Linked DNA regions of Homo sapiens: regions 1, 2 and 4 are each linked to region 3. Evidence: promoter capture Hi-C in 16 types of primary human blood cells and fetal thymus (Javierre and others, 2016). All regions are on one chromosome and are shown on one strand. The core of a region is centred on a gene start or on the middle of the fragment in contact, and the rest is flanking DNA. Distances in the headings are between cores, read along the strand shown.

Evidence for each region. Contacts are between HindIII fragments. The CHiCAGO score rates a contact against its expected background, and 5 or more counts as called.
Region 1: a contact is called between a fragment that was not itself captured here and the fragment with the promoter of PSMC6 in region 3, in 1 of 17 cell types (total B cells). The highest score is 5.1, in total B cells.
Region 2: a contact is called between a fragment that was not itself captured here and the fragment with the promoter of PSMC6 in region 3, in 1 of 17 cell types (total B cells). The highest score is 5.2, in total B cells.
Region 4: a contact is called between a fragment that was not itself captured here and the fragment with the promoter of PSMC6 in region 3, in 2 of 17 cell types (naive CD4 T cells and neutrophils). The highest score is 5.9, in naive CD4 T cells.

The regions. Positions count from the first base shown.
Region 1 is chr14:51,841,378-51,848,974 of GRCh38, forward strand. It overlaps a transcript of GNG2 not described here. Among named protein-coding and RNA genes, the nearest start is that of GNG2, 15 kb to the right of the region's middle. RefSeq lists enhancers at 2,810-2,949, 2,990-3,079, 3,100-3,199, 5,734-5,833, 6,164-6,223 and 1 more. The HindIII fragment of the contact is 4,692 bases long and covers 789-5,480 here.
Region 2 is chr14:52,174,979-52,182,737 of GRCh38, forward strand. No RefSeq gene overlaps it. Among named protein-coding and RNA genes, the nearest start is that of LINC02319, 53 kb to the left of the region's middle. The HindIII fragment of the contact is 2,479 bases long and covers 1,129-3,607 here.
Region 3 is chr14:52,701,872-52,709,147 of GRCh38, forward strand. PSMC6 (proteasome 26S subunit, ATPase 6) reads left to right here and starts at 5,329. Exons shown (of 14, transcript NM_002806.5): 1 at 5,329-5,433; 2 at 6,438-6,517; 3 at 6,612-6,651; 4 at 6,893-6,945. The coding sequence starts at 5,349. RefSeq lists enhancers at 4,880-4,989, 5,010-5,069, 5,370-5,619, 5,640-5,689. The HindIII fragment of the contact is 4,351 bases long and covers 4,628-7,276 here.
Region 4 is chr14:52,000,281-52,007,411 of GRCh38, forward strand. It overlaps RTRAF (RNA transcription, translation and transport factor), which reads left to right. Exons shown (of 8, transcript NM_016039.3): 6 at 1,518-1,586; 7 at 3,914-3,962; 8 at 4,082-7,131. The coding sequence ends at 4,236. NID2 (nidogen 2) reads right to left here. Exons shown (of 22, transcript NM_007361.4): 20 at 6,257-6,380; 21 at 5,457-5,569; 22 at 4,529-5,216. The coding sequence ends at 5,206. Among named protein-coding and RNA genes, the nearest start is that of RTRAF, 14 kb to the left of the region's middle. The HindIII fragment of the contact is 8,552 bases long and covers 227-7,131 here.

The DNA of each region.
Region 1 (7,597 bases), core at 1,885-4,384, 860 kb before region 3:
CCTATGTTTAGAGGCTGCACCAAACAAACAAACAAACAAAAAGCCTGGCACTGTTTGTTCTGTATGAATTCATATAATCCTCACTGTAATCCTCTAAGGTAGATACTATTTTTCTCTCCATTTTACAGACAAGAATCCCAGAGCATAGAAAAGTCACACAGCTAATTAAGTGTTGGAGCCCGGATTTGAACCCAGGTAATCTGGCTTTGAAGTCCACAGTAATATTTCAACAGAACCATTAAAAGGAAAGAAAACAAGCAAGCAAAACATTAAGGCACATGAAAAGGGAAGGGTAGGATGGAGGCAGATGAGAAAAATCACTTTGTAGGAAATAGGAAATTATTGTGAAATAGACATGACTTCCAGCATATAGAGGTAGGTATAGATACAAGGAAATGCTTTTCTTTGGGGCCATACGATGACAACTGTGATCTTAATGACAGTTCCAGGCAATGCAGACTCCATCAAGAAAGAAGAATAAATTGTGTCCAATAGACTGCATGAAAATTATATTATTAATATATTTAAGAAAGATGTTTAATATAAGTTAACTGTTTACACACAGCTACCCAGAAAATCCCATCAAGGAATACAGGCTGGTCTCTGAACATTCTGTCTAATGAAGTTTCTAAGTCACTGTATGTTATTTTCCTATTGTCAAGAGGGCCTCCTTTTTAGCTCTCCTAGTTGGTTACCATGATGTCATGCTTATTTGCTCTATCCTGACCTAAATCATAATAAAATTGAGATCCTTCAAAAATCCTCCTATTCAGAGCCAGAACACTAAAAGCTTATTCAGATATGAGACTATTGTCCTGATAATATCTAGTCTAGACATAGGGATTCATGCAAGAAGGTACAATTAGAATCTTTTAGTCTGGCGTTGATGTCTTGAAATACATTTTCTAAAAAATTCAATTTTAATACATGTTATTTTGTAGAGAGAACAAGGAAGCATCTTCCCCAGGTCTTCACCAGAACAGTTCATTTGTTTCTTCTTTCTACAGCCTGTAGAGCTGTCCAAGTTGTGCTCAGCAATAATGGAACCTATGACTGGCAGGCAGAATTTCTTTTGCAGCAGCCGCAGGGCTCCGCACACGCAAACGGAAGTGCTCAGCAGCTGGGACACCCACTGTCCCAGTGCCAGAGTAGCTTTTCCTGAGGTCCCACCCCAGTGGTCACAGACCTACTCAGGGCTCAAAATTTATTTAACAAGATGGTTGGTTGGCCTATGTTACCACAAATGGCCTGTGTGTGACCCTTTTTCAGAGTACAGTTATTTGCCAGAATTTTTTTTTTTTTTTTGAGACAGATTCTCACTCTGTTGCCCAGGCTGGAGTGCAGTGGCACAATCTCGGCTCACTGCAACCTCCACCTGCTGGATTCAAGCAATTCTCGTGCCTCAGCCTCACCAGTAGCTGGGATTACAGGCACACACCACCACACCCAGCTAATTTTTGTATTTTTAGTAGAGATAGGGTTTTGCCGTGTTGTCTAGGCTGGTCCCGAACTCCTGACCCCAAGTGATCTGCCCGCCTCGGTTTCCAGAAGTGCTGGGATTACAGGCGTGAGCCACCACGCCTGGCCTATTTGCCAGAATTGAAGGAAAATTTTCTTCTCCCTCTGGAGAACTCTGCTGTTAATCTTGTTGCCACTAAGGTAGCAGGCTGAGATGTTGCAGCTAAAGACCGCAGAAGAGACTAACAACCCAATTAAGTTATAATTAGCTGAACTATTTCAGGTGTTTTTAATCAATGCTCTCCTTTCCGTAAATCATAGGAAAGGTCTTCAGGGGAGAGGGAAGAAATGATGCTTCTATATTAATGCAAATATACACTTGTTGAAGGGCTGGATGAAGGCACAAACATCTACTTGGTTGTCTTACTCTTGGAATTAATGCTGACCTCCTCTTTCTTGCTCTTCTCTCTCTCTTACCTCCTCACAGACATACCCAGACACCTGACTGCCAACTGCTATAGAAACCCCTCATATAGAACAATGAGAACACATGGACACAGGGATGGGAGCATCACACACTGGGGCCTGTCGGGGGTGAGGGGAGGGAGAGCATTAGGACAAACACTTGATGCATGTAGGGCTTAAAACCTGGATGACAGGTTGGTGGGTGCAGCAAACCACATGGCATATGTATACCTATGTAACCTGCACGATCTGCACACGCATCCCAGAACTTAAAGTTAAAAAAAAAAAAAACTCAAATATTTTGAGTGTGTCCACTCTGCTCCTGCCCTCAACCCTACTTTCTTTCAATGCCTATCCCACACTGTTATGGGGCAGTCTTTCCAACATGCAAACCCAGTCACATCAGTCCTCTTGACTAACAGTTTTAATGGTTCCTCATGTTTCCATTTTGATTGAATTGCCATGGAAGGTATTTCCTCAATTAACCCCAGCCCACCTCTTCAGTCCACCCCACCCACACAGCCTGGCCTTTTGGTCCCACTATGCCAAGCTATTCATGGCTCACAGAATAAGCCATGCTCTGCCCCAACTCATGCTTCCAAGCAGCCAGTGGCCTCAGCCTGCAAGGCCCCCTTTCTCCTCCCCACCCCTTGGTCACCACCTTGGTTTCCACCGTGGCTCTAAAGACTCTTCTGGTGACTCAGGCAAAGGAAATGTATCTCCTTTCTGTGCATCTCCTGGCTGTGTGTTCTCTTCTCAGTTCGCTCTGCTCCTTCCTACTTTGTTCTCGTGGCTGTCCCAGATATTCAACCAGTTTGATTGAAGACATTCAATTTGTTGAGGCAGAAACATGGAGCAGTTTTATCTTGCAAATGGCTGCTACCAGCTGTGTGTTCCTGTCACTGGCTCTCCTTTCCCTCTAGGGACCCAGTCCCCTTAACAATATTTGATTCTCTGTCATAACTCATAAGTCGTCACTTGTGTTTATTAAAACAATCTGGTCTGGTTTCCCATCTCATATATGGTTCAAACTCTCTCTCCCCAGGGTAAGCTGGACTAGGCTGGGTAGGGGGCAGATCTTATGTCTGAGACTGTCCCCTTCTGACTCATGATGTCACAGTGAAGAGGAGGAGGAGTTTCTCTAAGTCATTGTTTTCTTCATTGGCTTCAGTGGAGCTGAAGTTGCTGGTGACTCTGCTGTTGTTGACAGCCCTGTGTGTGTGTGTGTGGGTGGAGAGGAGTGTTATATAAAGAGTTAATATGGTCAGATGGAAGCCCCAAAACCTCCACGGAAGAGGACTCAGTTCCAAGAAGGTCCCCTGAGCATTGGTGGTTCCTTCCCGGGAGAACCTACCATAGTTTCCAGCTGACTCCCAGCTGGAGGCACCACACCATGGCCTTGGTATCTGTTCCTCTTTACCTCCTGCCACAATTTCTTTTTTTGAGGCAGAGTCTCACACTGTCACCCAGGCTGTAGTGCAATGGCATGATCTTGGCTCACTGCAACCTCTGCCTCCCAGGTTCAAGTGATTCTCTTGCCTCAGCCTCCTGAGTAGCTGGGATTACAGGCGCACGCCACCAGGCCCAGCTAATTTTTTGTATTTTTAGTAGGGATGGGGTTTCACCATGTTGGGCAGGCTGGTCTCAAACTCTTGACCTCGTGATCCTTCCACCTCGGCCTCCCAAAGTGCTGGGATTACAGGCGTTAGCCACCATGCCCAGCCCTCCTGCCACAATTTTTATTGAAACAACTTGGTGCTCTTGCTTTGATTTAAAATAGATAAAAAACACTGAATTTATTGTGAATTGTTTTTTTTCTCTTGGCTCTCTTAAAAATCTGTTTCTCTATGGGCTAAATTAGTGTATCATATGGGCCAAATCACTTTTTAAAAATAGGTAATTTTCAATCATAAATAAAGGCTGGTGCAGTGGCTCATGCCAGCACTTTGGGAGACCAAGGCAGGTGGATTGCTTGAGCCCAGGAGTTTGAGACCAACCCGAGCAACACGGCGAAGCCCTATATCTACAAAAAAATACCAAAATTAGTCAGGCATGGTGGTGCGCATCTGTGTGGTCCCAGTTACTCAGGAGGCTGAGGTGGGAGGATTGACTGAACCCAGGAGGTCAAGGCTGCAGTGAGCTGAGATCATACCACTGCACTCCAACCTGGGTGACAGTGAGACCTGTCTCAATAAATAAATAAATATCCATGGATCTTTAAACTATAATTAGATCTTAGAGGCAATCTTGCCCAGCATTTCTCAAAGTATGCTCTGAAGAACTACGAGAGATTCTGTGAAGGCAGTACTCAGTGGCCAAATACGTTTGGGAAATGCCATTCTTATTCTGTAGAACTCCCTCTCAGAGAGTCATCCCAGATGTCAGAATATCAAAAGCCCCGAGAAGTCCCATGGTAAATAAACCTGGTCAATGTTCTTGAACCTAAGATTTTGCAAAATGATTTGAGCTCTGAATTCCCCATCTGCACTTTTTACCCTGCGTGCCACCTATTGATCCAGTTTGGGACGTGCTGGCCTGAGTGATGAGTCAGTGGTATATGCTGGAAATAATATTAAGAAATGGTAGTTACAGGGCTGGATCCATCCTCTTTGTGCTCTGTAGTCCCCCGGGCACAGAGTTTTGTCTCGACATCACTGCTCCAGCATCTATAAAACATGGGACACTCCAGTTCATTGCAGCTTCCACCTTTGACAAGATAGGTATTACAAAATGACCTTGTGATTCAGCTGCCAAAAATTAACAGTAAAGCACCAGTAACTCTGTGAATCCTACTAGATTCAGTTTTTAAAATGTATAAACCATTTGTCAAAAGGCAGAAAGGTGGATATTGGAAAAGGAAAAACAGATTAATTTTAAACTACTTGACTCAGATATAATCATGAAAAATCAAGGAGGTGAGTTATCAACCATTTTAGTTTTTGTATATATTTGGAGTAATATAGAATATTTTTTACATACAATTTTTTTCACACACAAGTTCTCATCATACATATTACTAAAGATGGATAATACCTAGGTTATGAAAACCATATAAACCTGGATTAATCAATTTTTCTTATGTGGTTTTATCAGGCTGTTACAAATCAATTTTAAAAAGACAGGAAAGCAGCTAAATTTGTTGTTAATTCTCTGAAGTTGTTGGATAGAAGTAAAAATTCAACCTCAACCCCATATTAAATTCAAGCATTTGGAATCTTAATTCTAAAATTTAGAACTATAAAAAGAAGAACATTCTAAAAAAATGTGTGTGCGACCTGTTTTTTGCTTTGTTTTCTACCTAACTTAATTCTGCCACCCAGCTGAATATTTCAGGTTTCCTTGGTGGAACGCAGGCTGAGTGCTGAAGGGCTCTAGTCACCTGAGAATGGCATCTGCCTGCCCGTCACCATGCCAACACCCCTGGCTACAAAAAAGGGATTTCCCCTTTTTCCAGTCTTCCCTCCCATGTGGGACAGGTGCATGCACCCCTACTCCAGGAAGGGCACCATTCCTAATTACAATTGCTTCCTTCCCTCCACTTTTGTGTGAGAGAAGAAAGCTTGAGATGCAATCCTTTGTCTTTTCAAACATGATTCTTTTGGTTTTGTTTTGTTTTCTCGCTATTCTTACTGACGTCTTTGTGTGGTGCAGCGGCTGGGATCCCACTGCATCTACATGGCAACCAGGAAATCAGTCATTCAGAGTTTCCATGGTAACCAGAGGGGGGGAGGGGTGGAAAAATCCATTTTATCACGGTATGCTGTGTCCCTTCCTGGAAGCCTACAGAATTTTTAGACAGAGGTCATTATGAAATCAACAACAACAACAAACGCCCGTTGGCATCAAGACAGGCCTGTGAACTGGCATCCCCAGGCAGGCTGCAGACTGGGAGGGTGGGAGTGAGCATGCAGCTGACCCCACCATGAGGCACAGGGCGTCGCCTTCTCCCCTCAGCACAGAGGAGAGGTGACGAATGCCACTTGGTCTCTGCAGCGTCTGTAGAGGGAAGTCTGTAAGCGGGAGTGTCAACCCCAATTGGCAGATTCTCTGACACTTCAAGTCTGCAAAGGAAAAGCAGGTAACCGACGTTGTGTAAGAAGTGAGCCTCTTGGTTTGGGTGGGGGCACAGCTCTACTTTTATGGTAAGAGTAGCCCTGACTACGGAAGTGGGCTGAAGGGTGCTGTCCCAAGAAAAGCGGAAGTATCTGTTGAGTCTTGTTTCCTGTCACATCCTGGAGCTGAAGGTAGTCACATTTCAAATTTAAAAAAAAGAAAGTCATGTGAAGTTAACCAGTGAGATTATCTTTTACAGGCAGGATAATTAGAATCCTCAGTGGTGTAGAATCTTCCACCTACAGGCGGGTTGAGTTTTATCACAGACGAGAGGGGCCATGGACCCTCAGAAGGCCTTAGCTCCTGGATTTATTTAGTCTGACCTTTGGAGAGTCAAATTACCAAGAGGTGATCGCACTTCCAACTAAAATTGAGAATGTGCTCCTTGATTTTAAAAAGTCTTCTAATGGCGATATTCTAATAGGCCAGGACATAGGGATGTTACTCTATGAATACAGGTCCTTTTTCTTTTTTTTTTTTTTTTTTTTTTTTTTTGTAAAATGAAAAATTACCTCTCATCTTCCTTTTTAACAGTGGAAGATTAGGCTTTTCCTTTTTCCTCTTTGGAAATTGAGATGAACAAATTCTTGATTTCCTTCCCTCTTCACTCCACACTGCCCCCTCCACTCTCTTGAGTCCATCCTAGTAAATAGCTCCACCAGTCACCATTCACTTTGGAGTCTTCCTCACCCTTACTCTCCTTCCCTCACATCCAAGTCAGCAGCAAATTCTTATAGCCCTAGTTTCAAAATAGAGCCTGAATCCAATCTCTCCCCCTTGCCTTTACTATTTGTCATCCTAAGCCAAGCCAACATCATCTTTCTAAATTCCAAAAGGCCCTCCTCATTGTTCTAGTTTCTATTTTGGCTAGCGTCATTCTGGTCTCACAATGCAAGTCAGATCATGTCATGCCCTTGTTCAGACCATTTCCCACCCCGTGGCTGTACATCACACTCAGAATACAACCGTGACCAACAAAACTCTATGAAGTATAGCCCCCGACTACTGCCCCATCCTTATACCCTATGTGTGCATTCTGCTCTATCCATGCTGACCCCTCCTTGATGCTTCTGAACACACCCAACTTCTGCAGTCTCAGGGGAGAGTACTGTGCACTTGTTGAAATATTCTTCCCTAGATGTTAGGAGGCCTCCTCTCACTTCCTTCAGGTCTCTGTCTAAATGTCTTCTCCTGCAGGAGGATGTTTGTATCAGCCTGGGTATATTAGGAAATAGAAGGCACACCATTTTTAGGAGAATGAAGGGAGTATTTACAGAGGTATGTGTGGGGATCAGGAAACCAACAGCAAGATCTGATGCCACACCTAGGCTCGAATGGGCTAGTGTTGGAGGAATGCAGAGATTTGCAGTCCTGGACACCTGTGGGGCTGCCCAGAAGAAGTTGTGGTTCTTGAGGAAGGAAACCAGGACCAGAGAAGAATGCTGAGGAATAGACACACTGACCTCACTTTCTACCCGCTGGTCTAACACAGATGGAAATCAGAGATCGAGGGAGTTGGAGTAATGAAGTACTGGGTACTATACAAGTTATCTACTGGTAT
Region 2 (7,759 bases), core at 1,118-3,617, 530 kb before region 3:
GGGGTTACACCATGTTGGCCAGGCTGGTCTTGAACTCCTGACCTCACGTGATCCGCCCACCTTAGAGTCCCAAAGTGCTGAGATTACAGGTATGAGCAACCATGCCCAGACTTTTTAGTGAGATTTCATAAGGGAGCAAAAGTAAATACACATGATTAATTAGTATATACTATGTTTTTAAACCTTGTTGGTTTCCTTAAGAATATGATTGTCTTAGTCAGTTTGGCTTCCTATAACAAATGTACCATAGACTGAGTGGCTTAAACCATAAACATTCATTTCTCACAGTTCTGGAGGCTTGGAAGTTCAAGCTCAAGGTACTGGCAGATGTGGTGTCTGGAGAGAGCCTGCTTCCTGATTTGCAGAAGGTCATCTTCTGGTTGTATCCTCACATGGCAGAGAAAAACAAGCTCTTCTGTCTCATCTTCTAGGGGCACAAGTCCTATTCACGAGGGCTCCATCCTTACGACCTAATTACCTCCCAGAGGTAATTACCTATGACCTAGTTACCTCTTACTACCATCACATTGAGGATTTCAATATATGAATTTGGGGGAACACAAACATTCAGTCAACAACAATAATCATCATAATAGTTGACACATACACAGTGCCTCTTATGTTCCAGAAACTCTTTTGCATGCTTTACCTATAATAACTCTTCTAACACCTCAAGTGAGGAACTTGCCCACCTTAGCTCAGCTAGTAAGTAGAGCCAGGACTCAAACAAAGCATTTTGGCTCTGGAGTCTATACTTTTAATCATTAGACTACTGCTTCCTGAACAGCTTAATTTGTCATTAAATAATTTTCTACAATACTATTTTAGGTACTCTTTAGCATTCTATTACATGGATAAATAACTTATATTAAAAATCTCTCGTAATTGAACATCTAGGTCATTTCTATTTTTCCTCTATTAAGCAATGTTGACCTGAATGAAATTATAGCCTGTCTTTGTGCCACCTGATGATTTTCTTGCATTAAGGATGTGTATTTTAACCACAGCCACTTAGAAGTGTTATAAAATGTAGTACAACCCACCCCGCTGCCTTCAGAACAGGACGCAAACAAGGCTGTAGCTCTGTCTTGCTTGGACAATTCTCTACTGGCACCTACCAAGCTGCGAAGCTTCCTTCCTGTCTTGAGGTTTCACAGCCAGTTGCTTTAAATTCCCCCCAGTGTTCCTTGCCTTGCAGTGCTCACTACTAAGCAACAAACACATACACACAGAGACCACTTGTCTTAGTTCCACAAACTTCTCATATAGCAACGAGAGATGCTGGAGGTAATAAACTAGGTAACTTACAGGTTCAAAGCCTCACATTACTAACTGATGCTGGCTTCAAGCATTCTCGCCTTTCCTGAGCACTTCCTTATTCATCTCTTTCAGATGCTTTTCCATTTCCTGTGCTTTAACTGACACTCTTTTCTATTAGGTTAAACCACAGGAAACTGCTGATACTCAGCCACTTTTAACCTACAAAAATTAAAATTACACCTGGTTCAACCTAACGAGGTTGAGATGTTTATTTACCCATTGGGGAACATGGTAACAGTTTGTGATACTGTAAAGCTGTTCAAAACCTGTGAAAACCCTTCCTATCCTTGAGGAATTATTTTAAATCTTCATCTCTATGGAGTAAATGCCAGAAACTCACCTTCCCAGGCTGCTCCAATCAGATACAAGATTTTCTACTCAGAAAAGAATGACAGGAAGAGCTATTCTGCCATTGAGGAGAGACAGGAATAGGGGTGGGAACTGGGCATGGGAGGGTTCTTGACCTGGGTGGTGGTTATATGGAAGCGTGGTCTGTGATAATTCTTTTCTATTCTGTGTTATTCTGGAACTTTAAAAAAGTTTTGGAAACTCAGTTGTGGCAAGGGTAGGGGTGAGACATTGAGCTACCAGTCTTGGTGGTGTCCGGATTCCTGTGTCAGCAGTGTGAGCTGCAGGATCTGTATCCAATGCTGCCCTCTGGCCTCCATGGAGCAGTCCTGTAGGCAATTTTGGCATAGTTCTTGGTGTACAGTCTCCATCACTGTTTCTCTGGCTCTCCTGGAGTTTCTTTAAGATACCAAATATCCTTTAGTAAACATTCTTTCTGCTCTAATTAGCTATAGAAGGTTCTTATTTTGTTGTTGTTGTTTTGTTTTGTTTTAAGAAATAGGATCTCACTGTGTCACTCAGGCTGGAGAGCAGAGGTGCAATCAGAGCTCACTATAGCCTTGAACTCCTGGGCTCAAGTGATTCTCCCACTTCAGCCTCCTAAAGTGCTGGGATTACAGGCATGAGCCACTGCACCCTGCCGGGTTCTTGTTCATGACTAGCATCTAAGAGCCCTAGCTGATAAAAGGGAATTCAGGTTCTGTTCAGGCTAGACCTTCACCTGACACTGAAAATGCTGTCCTCAAGGCCACCTGAATGCTGGCTCTGTGGAGTACTCTATGGTACTCCAGACTCTAGTGCTCCCTCTGTTCTACAATCAGAGCATGCAGGGCTGAAAGTATATACAGCATGCCCTGCTGCTTTCAGCTGACTATTATTAGCTTCTCTAAAAGTCAATTTTTTACATTAATCTCCACTACTTTCTCCTCTATAAACCCCTGTTCCCCAAGAAATACAAGCACACACACACAACCACCAGCAGCAGCAGCAGCAGCACCCCCATCACCACCACCACAACCTGGAATACCCAGGACTATGAAAAAGTCATGACACACCACGTCTCACTAGAATGTAATCTTCATGGGCAGACTTGTCTATTTTGTTCAGTTCTCTATCACAGCATGTAGAATGGTGCCAGGCAGATATTAGGTACCCAGTAAATATCTGTTAAATGAATGAATATCTTGCCCTAAAATACATCTATCCATTTGTTTATCAAACGAAGAACAAATGCTTATGGAGACATGGGCTCAGGCACTGGTGTGTGTATTAGGAAAGTCATGGCTCTGCCCATGAGCAGTTCGAAATGAGTTAACGTTACTAATGACCCCCACAATATATGTTTTGTCACTTCTGTGAGCCCAATTGGAGCTTCTTTTTAGTGAAGCTCTGGGGCAGTACAGGTAGGAGGTCTTCATAACCAAGAGGCAATGCCTTCCGGCTCTTCATCTCAGTTTTAGGCCAAAGAGAAGGGAGCCAGTGACAACATGAACTGGTAAATGAGATATCCAGGTATGTGCCCACCACTTTTGTCCAGGCTAATTCCCTGGCTAGATGGCTGGGAACCAACTTCAACCATGAATAAGGCAATATCAGGTGGCTAGACAGCAATCAGGTCCTCTCACTCCCCAGTGGCTCTTCTTCAGGCTTAGAATTAATCCCCAACTCCTCACCCTTTTACTAGCATAGCTATGAAGTTCCTAAACATGTTTAACAAAAAAATTTATAGATTAGAAAGACCAGAGAGAACTTGGCTCAAGATATTTTTCTGCATATAGTCAGAATATAAAAGCTCTGGGTGTATTCCTATTTGATTTTTAAAAAGATCAGCTTAATCAAACTGACAGTAGCTGAGAGAGAGAAAAAAAAGAGTATGAGATACTTAATAATGTGAGATATATTTAATAACTATCTGGCAGAAAAGTAAGTCTTATCAGGAAGCTTTATTTTATTTTATTTTTTTCGAGACAGGTCCTCACTCTGTTGCCCAGACCAGAGTGGAGAGACACGATTATGGCATACCACAGCCTCGATCTCCTGGGCTCAAGTGATCCTTCTACTCTAGCACCTCATGCAGCTGAGACCACAGGGATGCGCCACCATGCTGGGCTAATTTTTTAGCTTTTTTGTTGAGACAGGATTTCACTATATTGCCCAGGCTGGTTTTGAACTCCTGGGCTCAAGCAATCCTCCCACCCTGGCCTCCCAAAGTGCTGGGATTACAGGCATGAGCCACCACACCTGGCCATCAGGAAAATTTTAAGACACCATCTGGAGCATGTGATCTGTTTTCAGTCTTCCAGAGGTGTATTTACTGTGACCCTAATGAAACTAAAGCCTTAGAGCCCCTTATTTACACAAGCACCTTTCAAATCTCTGTACCTAATTTTATATTTTTTAAATATGTTTTCTCAATGAAGGACACAAAGTTATTTAAGCGTTAGGCCCTACAAAATCAGGTCTGAATGTGCATGCTCCATATGGAAAGAAGGACTAAAAATTAAATAGCCTTGACATAAATATTGGCCCTGACAAGGAACTATGTCCCTACATCACAAATCTGCTTAGCTTTCTTCGCTCACGTTTGGGGTTAGATTGGATTGGTAGTGCATTGGTCTATTCTCACACTGCTAATAAAGACATATCCGAGACTGTGTAATTTGTAAAGGTAAGAGATTTAATGGACTCACAGTTCTGTGGCAAGCCAGGTCTCATTAATGCAAGCCACCGTAACAACTGTTTCAGTACTGACTGAGTTGTTAAGTTAAATATTAAAAGCTAAAAGAGCCAGTGTCCTTATACAAAGGCTAGAATGTAACAAAAAGCCCACCAAGAGTTTTGCCTAGGCCTTTCCTCTGCCTTAAAGCATGATAAGATAACAAAGGAATTCTTAACAGGACCTGTTTAGGATTAAACAAGTTTTATTGGGGGTCTGAAGACACTTCCCAGGCCTCTGCAAACAAGTTTATTGCGGGTCTGAAGGAACTCCCCAAACCTCCATGATTTAGCAGGAGACAAGATAAGGGTAATCACCCCAGCACCTGGACCCATTTAGATTAAGTAAATTTACTGAGGCTCCAGAGGAAAGTCTTCGGGACTCAGATCTTAGTTATAGATTAAAAGAAGTTAATCACTATGTCTTCAGATGAATGCACACTTACATGTAGACATAAAGCTTAGAAGGTATATAATCTCTGGAAAACTAATTTTGAGTTGGTCTGGTGATATTTTCTGGGCCTTCTCCCTGTAACCTGTTACAGAAATAAAAACTCTGCCCTTTCCCCTTTCATCAGCATCTCATTATTGGGCCATGAGAATAAGCAGCCTGACCCTCAGTTTGGTCCGGGAACAGTTCCACATGGCTGGGGAGGCCCCACAATCATGCTGGAAGGTGAATGATATGGTTTTGCTGTGTATCCACCCAAATCTCAACTTGAATTGTATCTCCAAGAATTCCCACGTGTTGTGGGAGGGACCCGGAGCAGGTAATTGAATCATGGGGGCCAGCCTTTCCTGTGTCATTCTCATGATAGTGAATAAGTCTCACGAGATCTGATGGGTTTATTAGGGGTTTCTACTTCTACTTCTTCCTCATTTTATCTTGCTGCTGCCATGTAAGAAGTGTCTTTCATCTCCCGCCATGATTCTGAGGCCTTCCCAGCCATGTGGAACTGTAAGTCCAATTAAACCTCTTTTTCTTCCCTGTCTCAGATATGTCTTTATCAGCAGCATGAAAACAGACTACTATAGTGAATGAAGAGCAAAATTATGTCTTACATGGCAGCAGGCAAGTGGGTATGTGCAGGAGAACTCCCCTTTATAAAATCATCAAATCTCATGAGATGCATTCACTATCATGAGAACAGCATAGAAAAAGCCCACCCCCAGATTCAATTACCTCCCACCAGGTCCCTCCTATGACATATGGGGATTATTACAATTCAAGGTGAGATTGGGGTGGGGACACAGAGCTAAACCATATTAATCTGCCCCTGGCCCCTCCAAATCTCATGTCCTCACATTTCAAAACCAGTCATGCCTTCCCAACAGTCCCCCAAAGTCTTAACTCATTTCAGCATTAACTCAAAAGTCCATAGTCCAAAGTCTCATCTGAGACAAGACAAGTCCCTTCCACCTATGAGCCTCTAAAATCGAAAACATGTTAGTTACTTCCTAGATACAATGGAGTGGTACAAGCATTGGGTAAACACAGCCATTCCAAATGGGAGAAATTGGGCAAAATGAAGTGCCTTATGCAAGTCTGAAATCCAGCGGGGCACTCAAATTGTAAAGCTTCAAAATGATCTCTTTTGACTCCATGTCTCAAATCCAGGTCACGCTGATGCAAGAAGTGGGCTACCATGGCCTTGGGCAGCTCCACCTCTGTGGCTTTGCAGGGTACACCCCCCACTCCTGGCTGCTTTCCCATGTTAAGTGTCTGCAGCTCTTCCAGGTTCATGGTGCAAGTTATCAGTGGATCTACCATTCTGGGGTCTGAAGGATGGTGGCCCTCTTCTCACAGCTCCACTAGGCAGTGCCCCAGTGGGGACTCTGTGTGGGGGCTCCAACCCCACATTTCCCTTCTGCATTGCCCTAACAGAGGTTCTCCATGAGGGCTCTGCCCCCGCAGCAAACTTCTGCCTGGACATCCAGGCATTTCCATACATCCTCTGAAGTCTAGGCAGAGGTTACTAAACCTCAATTTTTGACTTCCACGCACCCACAGGTTCAATACCATGTGGAAGCTGCCAAGCTTTGGGCCTTGCACCCTCTGAAGCCATGGCCCCAGCTGTACCTTGGCCCCTTTTAGCCACAGCTGGAGTGGCTGGTACTCAGGGCGCCAAGTCCCTAGGCTGCACACAGCAGGGGGTCCTGGGCCCAGCCCACAAAATGATTTTTTCCACCTAGGCCTCCGGGCCTGTGATGGGAAGGGCTGCTGCAAAGGTCTCTGACACACCCTGGAGATATTTCCCCATTGCCTGGGTGATTAACATTCAGCTCCTTGCTACTTATGCAAATTTCTGCAGCAGGCTTGAATTTCTTCCCAGAAAGTTTTTTTCTTTACTATCACATTGTCTGGCTGCAAATTTTCCAAATTTTTATGTTCTGCTTTACCTTGAACACTTTGCCACTTAGAAATTTCTTCCACCAGATACCCTAAATAATCTCTCTCAAATTCAAAGTTCCACAGATCTCTAGGGCAGGGGCAAAATGCCACTGATCTCTTTGCATAACAAGAGTGACCTTTACTCCAGTTCCTAGCAAGTTTCTCATCTTTATCTGAGACCACCTCAGCCTGGACCTTATTGTCCATATCACAATCAGCATTTTGGTCAAAGCCATTCAACAGGTCTCTAGGAAGTTCCAATTCAACTCTAGGGAGTTACAATTCAAGGTGAGATTTGGGTGGGGACACAGAGTCAAACCATATCAGGTAGATTGGTTGGTGTCTTTATTAATCAAGCATAACACAAAAATGAGAATTTATGTAAATTTTAATTAGTCATTTGATGTGTTTTAGAAGCCATCATAAGATTATCAAAAAAAATTTCAATAATACAAAATGACAACAGTATTTTTACTTTAGATATGAATTTGAGTATGTTATCAGTCTCAATGCATACCTCAGGATTTTGAGGTTTGAATTGGCTCTCTCATGAAATAAATTCTATGCATTGTTTTATTTTTTGACTTGGCAATAAATAATAGAGAAGACCCAGAAGAAGTTATTGGGAAGAAAGTTGCCTCCAGAGGTAGAGCTGGAGACCATTATTCTTCATGACTATTGATATGGTTTGGCTCTGTGCGCCAACCCAAATCTCACCTTGAATTGTAATAATCCCCATGTGTCATAGGAGGGACTCAATGGGAGGTAATTAAATCATAGGGTTGAGTATTTCCCATGCTGTTCTTGTGATAGTGAATAAGTTTCATGAGGTCTGATAGTTTTATAAAGGCGAGTTCCACTGCACATGTCCACTTGAGTGCCGCTATGTAAGATGTAACTTTGCTCCTCATTCACTTTCCACCATGATTGTGAGGCCTCCCTAGCCATATGGAACTGTGAGTCCATTAAACCTCTTTCCTCTAT
Region 3 (7,276 bases), core at 4,079-6,578:
CGTGATCCGCCTGCCTCAGCCTCCCGAAGTGCTGGGATTACAGGTGTGAGCCACCGTGCCCGGCCAAAAAAAAATTTTTTAATAAAGCAAATAGTATACTGCTTGACATACATAGCCCCACAATGACACAAATATTGGATAGCAATTTAACCAAAATTTACATATATTGCATTCATGGAGGATGCAAGTAGGAAAAGTGGGAGTCTGGAGTAAGGGTGCTAAATCTTTATCTTCCTAATTTGGTCAGAAGATAAATCCCAAAATTTATATATCAAGAAATAGCAGCATAAGGATATTATTTAGAAATACAAAGGTAAGTATAGTAGAAACACATTTAAAAATTAAGGGAGTGGAACTCGGGATTAGAGAAAAGTGAGACAATAGGCACCTCTTTTTCAATTTAATCTTTAGTACTTTTTTTAAAAGCTCTCTTTATGGTATTACTTTATTAAAAGCACACCCCAGAAGCCTAGAAACTCTAACTTCTTCATTTATTTTTTTATTTTATTTTTATTATTATTTGAGTTGGAATCTTGCAGTGTCTCCCAGGCTGGAGTATAGTGGCAAGATCTTGGCTCCAGAGACTGCAACCTCTGTCTCCCAGGTTCAAGCAATTATCCTACCTCAGCCTCCTGAGTAGCTGGGATTACAGGCATGTGCCACCACTTCTGGCTAATTTTTTTGTATTTTTAGTAGAGACGGGGTTTCACCATGTTGGTCAGACTGGTCTTGAACTCCTGACCTCAAATGATCCACCTGCCTCGGCCTCCCAAAGTGCTGGGATTACAGGCATGAGCCACCATGCCCGGCCTGAACTCTAACTTCTATTCCTACCTCAACATCTCACTGCTTAGACACAGACACATTAATTTAAGTGCATTTTCTTTCTTTTTTTCTTTTCTTTTCTTTTTTTTTTTTTTTTTTTTGAGATAGAGTTTCACTCTGTCGCCCAGGCTGGAGTGCAGTTGCGCAAACTCGGCTCACTGCAACCTCCACCTCCTGGGTTCACGCCATTCTCCTGCCTCAGCCTCCAGAGTAGCTGGGACTACAGGCGCCCGCTATCACACCCGGCTAATTTTTTTGTATTTTTTAGTAGAGACGGGGTTTCACCACGTTAGCCAGGATGGTCTTGATCTCCTGACCTTGTGATCCACCCGCCTCAGCCTCCCAAAGTGCTAGGATTATAGGTGTGAGCCACTGCGCCTGGCCTAATTTAAGTGCATTTTCATAGGTATTTGGAAGTAGACATTTGGGATGAAAAATTTCTAAAAACTTAAGTGTTGTGGCCAATGTGGGAGCAAAAGTAGTTGCTACTTGCCTATTTGACACTGTTTCCCAATTTTTCTCTTAAAAATAAATCTGTTCTTGTTGTATTTGTTATCGATCACTGTGTAACAAATTACCCCAAAACTAAGTGGCTTCAAACAACAAACATTTATCATCTCATGGTTTTTAGGGACCAGCAATTCAGGAGCAGCTGAACTGAGTTGTGTGACTCAGTCTCTCATGGTGTTGCAATCAATACTAGGGCTGCAGTAATAAAGGCTTGCCTAGAGCCGGAGGATCTCTGCCAGGAACTGCTCACTCATATGGCTGTTGGCAGGAGGCCTTAAGTTCCTGGATGGCTGTTCCTTGCTATGTAGGTCTCTCCATAGATCTGTTGATGTGTCCTCATGCCATGACAACTGGCTCTCCCACAGGGAGTTATCCAAGCGAGAGTCAAAAGGAAGGCTCAACACTTTTTGTGATCTAGTCTCCATCGTTGCGCACTGTCACTTCCACTTTATTTATCAAGAGCAAGTCACTAGGTCCAAGGAAGGGGAATTATGCTCCACCTCTTGAAGTGGAAAGTGTCAAATAATTTGTGTACATATTTTAAAATGACCACACTCATCTGTGCCAAGTTATAGGAAAATAGATTGAGAAACTATCCTTACATGATTTTTGAAGGTCTACATCAATCTCATTACCGTTTGTTATGACATCACTTTTAATGACTCCGAAATAAACTAAGATATGCCCTACCTTCTTTTATCTCTTCCACCCTATATGTTCTAATTTTCATTTTTTGGTCACATTTGTATTTTTCTGTTTTCACTTTATGATATTTTAAGTTCCTTGAGTACTGGTCACATTTCTTAGCCTCTTTATAACTCTGCTTACCTATCTTAGTGCCTGAGATATTCATTCATTCAATATACATATATCTCTTTTATTTCAGACACTGTGCTAGACACTGGGGATCCAATCAGGGGAAATAAATAGTCATAGTCCTTGTTTTCCGAGGGGTTACAGTCCACTGCAGAGAAAAGACTCTAAACATTTAATCACGTTTAAGAATATATAATTACAAGTTGAGCTACGTTTTCAGATGGAGAGGAATACAGTCTTATAGGCATGTATAAAAACGTAACGGCCAGGCGCGGTGGCTCACACCTGTAATCCCAGCACTTTGGGAGGCTAAGGCGGGTGGATCACCTGAGCTCAGGAATTTAAGACCAGCCTGACCAACATGGTGAAACCCCATCTCTACCAAAAATACAAAAATTAGTCGGGTGTGGTGGCGCATACCTGTAGTCCCAGCTACTCTGGAAGCTGAAGCAGGAGAATCCCTTGATCCCGGGAGGCGGAGGTTGCAGCAAGCCGAGATCGCACCACTGCACTCCAGCCTGGGCGACAGAGCGAGACTCCTGCTCAAAACAAAAAACAAACAAACAAACAAAAAAGTAACAGGGCTAGTGTAGGCATGGGGAAAATAGAAGATTCTTCTGAAGTTGAAATGCTGCCAGATGGGTAAAAGAAAAAGAACAAGGGTTAAGGGACTTTAAAATATTGATGTGATTAATGTTAAAATAACCTATCAGTATGTGCTCATAAATATTTTAAATTGAGCCATACTGAGCTTTCTTTCTCTGCCTTGTCCTCTCTTCTTTACTTCTTGATGTCAGAGGTGACATGTTTTGGTATGGATGGACTAGTTTGACCAGAGTAGTTGCAACTGAGTGGGAGAAGGGACTATCCCTGCCCCATACAGCTTCCTTGTTCATTGTATACTGCAAGAACCCAGTCACATTTAGAAAAATTGGCCGAACGCGGTGGCTCATGCCTGTAATCCCAGCACTTTGGGAGGCCGAGGCGGGCGGATCACGAGGTCAGGAGATCGAGACCAGCCTGACCAACATGGTGAAACCCTGTCTCTACTAAAAATACAAAAATTAGCTGGGCGTGGTGGTGTGCGCCTGTAATCCCAGCTGTTCGGGAGGCTGAGGCAGGAGAATCACTTGAACCCGGGAGGTGGAGGTTGCAGTGAGCCGAGATCGCGCCACTGCACTCCAGCCTGGCGACAGAGCAAGACTCCAACTCAAAAAAAAAAAAAAAAAAAAAAAAAAAAAAGAAAAATAGAATGGAATATTCACACAATACCCATGAGAATTGTTCCTAATAAATTTGAAGGCATCCTTTATGTGACTTTGGGTCATTAATTTACAAAAATTTGTACTTTATTTGTATATTTAGGATGTATATATTTAAACTCAAACATTCATGGCCATTGGATAAGGTGAGACCAAATGGAATCTATTTGGAGAATTTTACTCATGTTTTTTGGACAACAATTAATTGTCCCCAGGAACAATGATAGCAAGAGGTATAGCAATGAGGACCTGTAATGCAAAAATTGGAGTCATTACTACCCTTAAAATAAATATCTATTCAAAAGAACACTATTGAGTACATGCCATGTGGCAGATGTTGTGTTTAGGCACATTATCCTATTTAATACTCATGACAACCCCATTAGATAAGTGCAATTATTATGATCATTTTACAGAGATATTGAGGGAGTATGTAATTTTCCCCAAATCACAAAAATCTGAAAGTTGGCCAGGCGTCGTGGCTCACGCCTGTAATCCCAACACTTTGGGAGGCTGAGGCGGGCGGATCACTTGAGGTCAGTAGTTGGAGACCAGCCTGGCCAACATGGTGAAACCCCATTCCTACTGAAAATACAAAAATGAGCCGGGCGTGGTGGCGGGCGCCTGTAATCCCAGCTTCTCAGGAGGGTGAGGCACGACAATCGCTTGAACCCGGGAGGCAGAGGTTGCAGTGAGCCAAGATCGCACCACTACACTGCAGCCTGGGTGACAGAGTGAGACACAGACTCAAAAAAAAAAAAAAAAAAAAAAAAATCTGGCCGGGCGCAGTGCCTCACACCTGTAATCCTAGCACTTTGGGAGGCTGAGGAGGGTGGATCACCTGAAGTCAGCAGTTCGAGACCAGCATGGCCAACATGGCGAAACCCCGTCTCTACTAAAAATACAAAAATTAGCCGGTTGTGGTGGCGCACACCTGTAATGCCAGCTACTCCGGAGGCTGAGGAAGGAGAATTGCTTGAACCCGGGAGGTGGAGGTTGCAGTGAGCTGAGATCGCGTCACCGCTCCAGCCTGTGCGGCAGGAGCAAGACTCCATCTCAAAAGTAAATAAATAAATACATAAATCTGAAGGTTCTATCAGACTTCAAAGTTCCTGCCTCAGCCTACTTCAGCATCTTTATCTTGTACCCCACATCTCTACAACCCACCCCCTACTGGTCTCATTGGCCTCCTTTCTGTTCCTGGAAGTGAGTCAAGCTTTCTACCCACAACCCCCACCCCACTCCACTCCAGGACTTGCACTGTTTGTTTAGGTTTTCTTCAGTTGTTGCAAGGCTGGCTCCTTCTCATCTCAGATATCTGTTCTAGATTAATTCTTCCCACCATACTTCTCACCGTGTTTTAATTCCTTCACAGTATTTGTTAAACTCTGAAGTTTTTTTTATTATTATTTCCTATCAAATGATAAGCAGATCTACCTTTAATACCTCATTCACTGACTGAATGGATGAATAAAACTGTCTACTTCTCCAGCACGTGGAGGTCTTGGACAGTACTGTGTTATAACAAAGGCCATCTGTGTTGTGTCGACAGGCCATCGGAACTCCTTTGAGGTATTACACATTTCCTACTTCACTTCCATCTCAGTTTATTACAGAGCCTTTTATACTTCCGGGACAGCAGTGACTTAATACTGAGGCCTCTCAGGGGAAGACCGGGATAACTGAGTCCTGCTTTACCTATCTCGGCTTGCAAGAAACGGTATAGGTGGAGGCCTCTTTCAGTGTATGCCGGCGCTCTAGGTGAACCGAGACATAGAGGTGGAAGTGGAGTAGAAAGACGGGGCCAACCGGAAGGGGAGGGCTCATGGGCGAACCCACCCCTCCAGGCAGGGTTTCGCCCCTCGCCCCGCCCCTTCCCCCGCCCGGACGGCCATGGCCATTCCCGGCATCCCCTATGAGAGACGGCTTCTCATCATGGCGGACCCTAGAGATAAGGCGCTTCAGGACTACCGCAAGAAGTTGCTTGAACACAAGGAGATCGACGGCCGTCTTAAGGAGTGTGAGTGCACCTTTCTTTCCATTTAATCAAGTGCCTCGACTCGCTTCTGCCTCTGACAAAGCAGAAGCCTTTCGCCGAGCCCGGCAACCGAGCCTTAGAGATGACCAGGCCTAGGGCCAGGGACAAGGCGCTTTGTCATCCGGCCCTGAGCTTGTGGAGCAGCACTCCTTCGGGTGTAGAAATGGCCCAGTCCAGCCCGGGTGACAGAACATCGGCGGCCTTGAGGTGAAAATGAAAAAGAAGTAGAGGAGGAGTGGGGAAGTGGGCCGAGGATGTTTCCCAGGTTAGGGTGCAAGAAGGGCAGTCTTGGTGGAGTCCCGGGACTTGGAGAGGGGAAGGCGCTTGAGTCAAGTAAGCTCAAACAAGAGATGAGACTCAGGGAGTCGGCTTGTTCTTGGAGTCGAAAGACGGCCGCGGAGCTTAAGAGAGAAGTGTTCCAGTTGTCATAATAACCCATATCGTCTTGTGTTTCGTGTTGTACTGTATCAGGCATACAAATTTCCCTTACCTCCTGAGTGCTTAACTTTTTTTTCCAGTGCATTTTCATTGAAAAGCATGAGTAGTTTAATTAAATGGAGGACCATAATTACATGATTCTGTGGAGAACTGCATTTGTTGACTTTATTTAGGGTAGAATGTCAGAGAACAATCCACGTGGGTAGGTGAAGAGGTGAGGAAGGGTCTAAGTGATTATCATTCGGATTTGTAGTCGCAAATCCTAAGTGTCAGGGTGTCAATATCTTCTAAGACTATAACTTAAGATGTGCTTAAACAAGTATTGCCGATCAACAAAGTAAAAGTATGGTGCTTTCTCTGTAACATTTTGTTGTTATACATGCCACCTACTCATTACAAACAGCATTATTTCTTTTATGGTTTGAAACAGTGGATGTGAAACTTAGGTAAAGTGAAGTAGACTTACGTAAACAGTAAAGTGAGACGTAGCGACTTAAACACACTAAGATTACTGTTCAATTAAAAATGTTCAAATTGTATTATTTCAGTAAGGGAACAATTAAAAGAACTTACCAAGCAGTATGAAAAGTCTGAAAATGATCTGAAGGCCCTACAGAGTGTTGGGCAGGTAGGTGATGGAGTTTGGGGAATAGGGGGTGATGGTAATTTGCTTTTTTATTTAGCTGTTGCCAAAAAGTAATGCTTTTTATTTTCTTCCTTAGATCGTGGGTGAAGTGCTTAAACAGTTAACTGAAGAAAAATGTGAGTGATGAATTAGCTTATTAATTAGTAAAGAAACAGTCCACCTCTCTCTCACTTTTGAAATGCTTATTATTTTAATGACAATAATGCAGAGAGAGAGAGTATTTTTGAATAGACTTAAGTTTTCCTTCAACTAATGTCTCCTTGGAGGACAGAAATACAACTAAACCCTCTGTCAACGTGGGTATGTATTTTTTTACTTTCTATTTTTCAATTAGTTCTTTTATGTTTTTTCTTCTAGTCATTGTTAAAGCTACCAATGGACCAAGATATGTTGTGGGTTGTCGTCGACAGGTAATACTTTATATTTGTATAGTGCCTGATGATTGACAAAGCAGTTTCATGTAAGTTATTGTCTCTAATTCTTGAGGCAAGCAGGTGGAGCATTTATGCCCATAACTCACAAGGATGATTTGTTCAGACATAGCTAGTTATTAACAAAGCCTGAATTCAAACCATGGGCTTTGACTCCTGGCATTCCGTACTTTCTACTGTATTACATTGTCTCAGTCAGATCTGTTAATAGCCACTTAGAAATAAAAGTATTTTAGAACTGGAAAACAGACATTTTATTTTAATGTCATTTTTAAAGAGGACTTAAAAGTGTTAGATATCATCAGTTACC
Region 4 (7,131 bases), core at 3,253-5,752, 700 kb before region 3:
CCCAAAATCTCTTTGAGAAATGAATCTTTCTGTCCCCGATGCTAGATAGGCCACTCAGTTCATAACTATACTTCAGGAATCCCAGTAATCTGAAAGAGGTCTCTTGTTTCTGAGAGAAATCATAAACTTCAGAAGATTTATTCCTAGTAATCGTGAAAGTACAGTGGTGTGGATCAGGGGAGTGGTACTTAAGATACCAGACTTGGAAATTTTATAAGAGATTAAAAGCTTTTAACTAGACCTTGTGCATGTAAACTACTTTGTGATAAATATCACTCTACCCAGAAGAGATTAAGCCATAACTTACCATGCTTTTTAGATTTTTATTATTAAATGTCAGTTTTAACAAGACTGTTGTATTCCTAAGTTATTAAAATTTTCTATACTGAATCTGAATGTTAACTTGGATTTTCTCAATCCAGATTGCATGCCAAAAGACAAAAATGTTTTTAGTGAAATTTAGCTATTTCAAAGGCTTGTTCTTTATTCCGACAATTATGTAAATTGCCTTGGAACTGTTCTATAGTGATCATGTCAGCTTTAATCATAAAGTAAGTGAGAGGAGAGTCAGACAATGCATAGCGTATTTGGGATGCTTTTGTTAGACTTCAAAACCCAAGGGGATAAAGTATAAATCAACTACAACAAAATGCTATAAAATTCTAGTCCTGCTGCACATTTGTCCCTTTTGAGTTATTTTAAGAGGCATTCAAACAATAACATAATATGGAAAACATCTTAGTACGTTTGCCAAGTACAAGCATCAGTATATTAACTGTTTGGCAACCAGACTATTTAATAACATCTGCAATAACTGTTAAACATTGTTTGAATTCGGTTTTTCAAAGATAGCATTTGGTTTTTTATTTAAAAATTATAGTTTAAGTTTTCACACTTATTTTTGAGTTGTAATTGTCATCTTCCTAATTAAAATTCCATTTTTTTAAAATTTGATTTTTAAGTGTGTATGGATACTTGCATGCATGCCTACCATAATGAAATGCCTTGGTGATTAAAACCACCAACGGTGTCCTTTGAAAGGTTTGAAAATATTTTACTAGAGTGAAGTGATAAAAGCAAAGTGTAAGACAGTATGTATGATCTGCTACCCTTTGTGTCAAAAATGTGTATTCGTGCTAAGCATGCTCGTCATTTCGCAGTTTTAGTGAGGGTAAGGAATCTGTAGGGGATCGCAAGGCTCAGGTAGGAAGGAGACCTACTTTTTACCATGTGTCTTGCTGTATTTAAAGTTGTTTTTTACCAGTCACGTGCATTACCTATTCAAAAAATGGTTTTAATTGTTGCAAGCACCATTCAACATTATTAAAATACTAGAAGTGTGAAAGGTTACGTTATATTAGTGGGTTTTTTTTATTTTTAATTTAATGGGGAGTTTATTAATGAACTTAGGTAATTCTGACTTCATCAAAATGAGCATCCTTATTCTCTGGGCTCATAGAAGAAAGGATGACAGGTACACAGCCTATAAAAAGTAAAAATATTTTTGGGTTTCTTAGGCAATTCGGATTTTGGTTCAGGAGCGCCTGACACAGGATGCAGTTGCTAAGGCAAATCAAACAAAAGAGGTACGTTTCTATAAATCCTAAATAAGTTGTTAATGAACATTTCTTCTGGTATGGCCGTGATTTTAAACTTTGCATGTATCTGTTTAAGATATCCATTCTACGTTCTACAACTTAGAGAAAGGATAGCTTACTTCAGTGCTTCCTAAAGCAAATTGAATGTATTCAGTGGCTAGGGGGTCATTTTTGAGTGAAAAACTTCATGTTCCTCTCACTTTGTACCTTAAAAAAGCCACAAATAGCTCATGCACAGTCCACAAATCATGCTTGTGGCCCGTTGAAGTTTATTTAAAATGAGTTACCCATATGAAACTTACTGGATTATTTTGACTCATGCTGGAGAAGAAGGAACACACCTCACTACAAATTAGTTTTCTTTTTCTATCTAAATTCTATCCTTGCTCTTATTTCTTCAGAGTAAATTCTTGTTTTATTCAATTTCCTGGCATAAAACATGAGAAAGTAATTTGGCTAAGGTCACCTAGTTGGTAAGTGACTGAGCTCAGGCAGTCTGACTTGAGAGCCTGTGCTCTTACGGTAGGTGGGGAGAAGGGTCCATGCGTGGATGTCTGCATGAGCTTGTCAGTCTGCCCAGGTGAAGGGACAGGGGGTTCTGTTGGAGTGTAAGGTTCAAGGTACAGGTGACTGAAATGGTATCTTTCAGTCCTACCTTGTAGGCTGAGAAAAGCTATATCCCATGACTACCTTCCCCTTAAAGAGAAAATATGGAACATTTTTAGATTATATCAGAAATCCAAAGATGCCTAAAGTTTCACTGGCTGTGCAGCGGTGGAGAGACTGTCCTCAGGTCAGCAGCAGCAGTGTCTGATAACACCTGCCTCCTGCAGCAATGATGTTGTAGTGAATGCCTTGGGCACAACTATGTTGTTTGTCCTCCCTGCGCCCTTCCCCCATCTCCCAATGCCTTTTGTCCTCCAGCCCCTTTAGGCAGGCCAAGCAGTGTTAAAAGGTTACTAATGCCAGGGCAGTATCTCTGAAAGACACTGTTTTCTTTTAAAGGTTCTTACTGGCTCGTTGTATATGAATCGAGCCACTGGAAGTTGGGTTAAAGATCAGCTTATTTCACCCTCCCTATAGAACAGACAGTAAATTGTTCTGGTGTAATAAAGTCAATCATTCATTCATTCATTCCTTCAGCAAAACTATGCTTTGGAAGGCAGTGTAAGTAAAGGCTTAGCCAAATCTCTTTGCTCTTGTTTGTAAAGTAAAATTTAGTTTTATTTTTAATGCTCCCAATTTTAATTTTGGTGTCATCTCAAAAGATACCAGCCTATAACAATTTAGTGGAGTTCTTACAGTCTAGTGTACTTATAAGCATTTATAACTACTATTTGAGGCATATGGTAGTTTTCAGGGGTAGCTTGGTGGCCTGTTGGCAAAGGAAAAAAAAGTGGAGCCTCTGGTACTAGATGAACATATAAAGCCACTCAGTACAATTCTGCTCTTTAATTTTGCTCACTTGTGCTTTCGTACCCATTGGTTTCTTCAGACTTACATGTGTTAGCTGTTTTAAAGCAGACAGAGCCTACGTAGATTTACATTACTAGATAAGGCAAGAATTGAGCAGTGACTAAAGCATTTGAATAGTAACAGGTTGTAACATTGAAAGATTGAAAGTACGGGTAGTGTGTTTTTCTTGGCAGTGATTTTATATAATCAGCAGGAAGTACAGACTGTCCTCATTTTAGAATTTGTTTCTGTGAAGTTTGGCATCACCATAGTCACCATCTTTAGTATGTCCATAGGTGCTGAGTGGTTTAGTTTTTCATTTTCCTAGACTGTTTGTTTCAAAGTAACTTCCAAGTCAAGTCTTGAAAGTTAAATTATACATAATTATACATAATCTTGGCAAACACCATGCTGGCTGAAAGGTTCGTACAATTTGTAAAGACAAATTAATGTGCTCAGAAATGGAATATAAGGTACTATTTTTGCCGTTTATACTGTTGCTTACTGTCGCCAAAATAAGACAGTAACAGCCTGGCTCAACTTGCCTTCCATAGCAGTAATGACAAGGCACTGCTGCAATAAGGATATATTGTTTTGTATGCCTGGGCTAAAGGATTGGATGAGCTATAGAGCTTCCTGGTACATTTAAAGGTTAACTTTTCCCCCTAACCGGTTGAAATAGGGAAAACTCGCTAATCACAATCATCACAAAGCAAATATAAACAAAATTCCTAGTTCCCTTGCCCATGCAGCTAAAAGAGTTAAGACACCAGAATAGCTAGGTGCTTTTCAGTTTCAGTTGAGGAAAGGATGCTATTCTTAACCATAAATACTCTCATTTTGTCTTTCTTTTTTTAAAGGGCTTACCTGTTGCTTTAGACAAACATATTCTTGGTTTTGACACAGGAGGTAAGTGATTTTGTTTAAATTCAAACTATTTTTTTTACAGACTGAATACTTGGGAGGAAATAAATGGCCTTAAATGTAAAAATTATGTATTGAAGCAGTGTTCTTTTCTCATAAAACAGATGCAGTTCTTAATGAAGCTGCTCAAATTCTGCGATTGCTGCACATAGAGGAGCTCAGAGAGCTACAGACAAAAATCAACGAAGCCATAGTAGCTGTTCAGGCAATTATTGCTGATCCAAAGACAGACCACAGACTGGGAAAAGTTGGAAGATGAACACTTGAGGACTTCAGCTTCTCACCTACTTAGTACAGTTGGGAACCATACACTTCTGGCATGTTTGGAAATCAAAATGTCACATTCTCGGGGGAGGAAGCCCAGAAAATTGGGTATGTTCTAGAGATTTACCACCATTGCTTATTGCTTTTTTCTTTAATAAAGTTTAGGAAAGTAGAATTTTTATTATGTACTGTATGTTTGCATAAATCACCTTTCTCCTTTGTGGTTAAGGCATATATGCCAACCCCCAGCTTTGTCCTAGAGACAATATAGATCCTTAAGTCATAGGAAAACTTAAAACACTTTATTGGAGTAATCTAGAAAATTTTAAAATTGTTACATCTTTGGTATTTATAAATGTGATACTTTACTTTCTGTGGGTACTTCTATAGAGGCACTACAGGATCAGAAAATGCAAATTGAATCATTTTAGCACCTTTTGATATAAATAGAAATGCACTGATGCAGAGGTAAAAAATCTTAGAACTTTTGTTGGGAAACTATAAATAATTGGTCCTTTCCCATCAGTTCTGCATTGGCTTCTCCAACTGTCAAGGTTTAGGATTATATTGTTATATTGATCACATGTGCTTTAATTTCTTGGCCAGAAGGAATCCATGGCAAAAATCAGGTTTAGAGTCTTAAACTCTAATTCTTAGTTGAATGAATTTGATCTTTTAAATATTAATGATAAATGTTTACAAGAAGTTGCTTTAATAAGCAACAGTTAAAATTCTGTTACCTTTTTAAACTTGCAATAACAACCTTCATTTTTAAAAATACAGTAGTAAAGATTGAGGTATCAGCTTTTCACAAAAGTCTTTTTGCACTACAAAATGTTCATCTTGGATGCTCAGGAACGTCTAATGGCCAATTCCTTTTTTACTTTCTTTGCCTTTGCAGTCACTGTTCTTTAGGGTCCAGGTTCTGATTGTAAACTCCAAGTCTTCCTTTACATTACTGTACTTACTTTCTTCCTGTGAGAGAAGAGCAGGGGTGGGACAGGGTGGTGGGTGAGTATATTGTAACCAAGTTGCAACAGCAAGTCTTTGCATTTTGTGTATAAACTAGGTAGATTTAAGGTAGTAAAGACTGGCCCTCAGGGCAGGAAGAAGGCAATGGTGGCAGTGTCACAGGCAGCAGGGGTAATCAAATACCATATATATCCCTTCTCTACCCTGCTAATTTAAAGGAGCATCCTAAAGCATACTTTTTACCTGTTGGGCAGTAGGGGTAGACTGCAGTTATCCCGTAGAGGTGAGATCGTTGTTCTGGGAGATACTCATCAGTAAACTGGCCACTATGTTTATTTACTGATACAACACCATCCCTGGTAACAGAAAGGAAGAGTGAATTCAGGGACAGTCATTTACTAGATAAAGAAGTCAGTCAGCCACAGAAAATCAGTTGCAATAGAGGAAAATTTCTGGCAGCCTTCTCTGTCCCAGGGCTGGTGCTAAAGCCATACTGAAGTTTGAAGACCATTGCTCTAAATCCATTGCTCATCTCTAGCTGCATGTTAGAATCACATGATGAGCTATCAAATCAGAGTTGTAGGGCATGGTGTAAAGGGCTTAGACTTTAATGTTCCACAGTTCCTCATTTGAGAACTAGTCTAAATAGTATTTTTCGGTCCCTCAGACAATATGTCCACAGTGTCAAAAGCCAACTTAAGCCCTGTAATATAGCTCATGGTATCAAGGGTAGTCTTATTCTCTAAAGAACATATTTAGATTAATATGCTCCCTTTTGAGACATTATCCAATAGCTTTGCTACTTTTTAAGCTATATGTGAGCAATACCATTCGATTTCTGGGTGAAGTAAAAGGATGATTTCAAAAACATGAAAGGATGAAAAACATCCTTGAAGGATCTTATCTGCCAATGAGGAGGTGATGAAACAAAAGCCTCAGAGGGCTTAATGAGTCAAGTCAGGTACTGACTTTTGGTAAAACAAGTGGTGTGTCCTCTGGAACAGTTGGCCTTTTCAGGCTTGTCCAGAATTTGTGGGGCTCACCTCCTCCAGTCTGTGTGGTAGAAGTGATCTGCATAGCTTACGATGCTGAAGGGGTACTTGAGGTTGTTTTGAATGACACGCCGTCCAGTTCCATCAGGTAGTGTACACTCCAGTTTTTTGGTTCCTTTTAAAACAAAGGGGGAAAATGAGGTCCTTCAGCTGCTTTGCCAAAAATGATAGTGACATAGTGATAGTGACACAGTGATAGAATGGGGAAATAGGATATTTTACTTCCATTACAGTCATAGATTAGCAACTGTAAAATTACCTGTCCTATTACTAGTCTCCAGTTTTTAGTAGAGATTCAAACTTTCAATCCTTTTTTGGAAGACAGGATTGCATTTACTGAAATCTGGTAAGTTTCTGCCAAAGTAGGGCATTAAACATAATTATTTTTATAATTTGTGTGATTTCAAGCCTTAGCTTATAAATTATAACATCTGGGTAAATACTTGCCCTTTGTAAGCTATGTCTATAATTACTGAGGCAACCTTTTAACCAAAATCCTTAGTATTTTTAAAATATTTTCTAGGTAGGAGGAAAAAAGTGACTAAAATGGTAACATAACTCATATTTCAATGTAAAGGAATCAGTCTTAAAAATTTTTACAATAGCTAAACCATTCAAGAATTTCCAAGTTTCACATTTCTCATGGAGCCGATTTAAATTTCAAATCCTTTTAAGAAATGTAACTTGTTTTAAACAACTGGGTTATAAAAGTGACCTATGTACATTAGGCCCTTTTATTAGATTACAAATTCAAGAACAGTCTTTTTCATATTCTTTAGTATAGAACTAGACACACAGCATTTTTTCAGTTGTGCTGATAAAAGCAAACAAATGTAGGTTGCTAATACCCATGTTATTACTGAAGG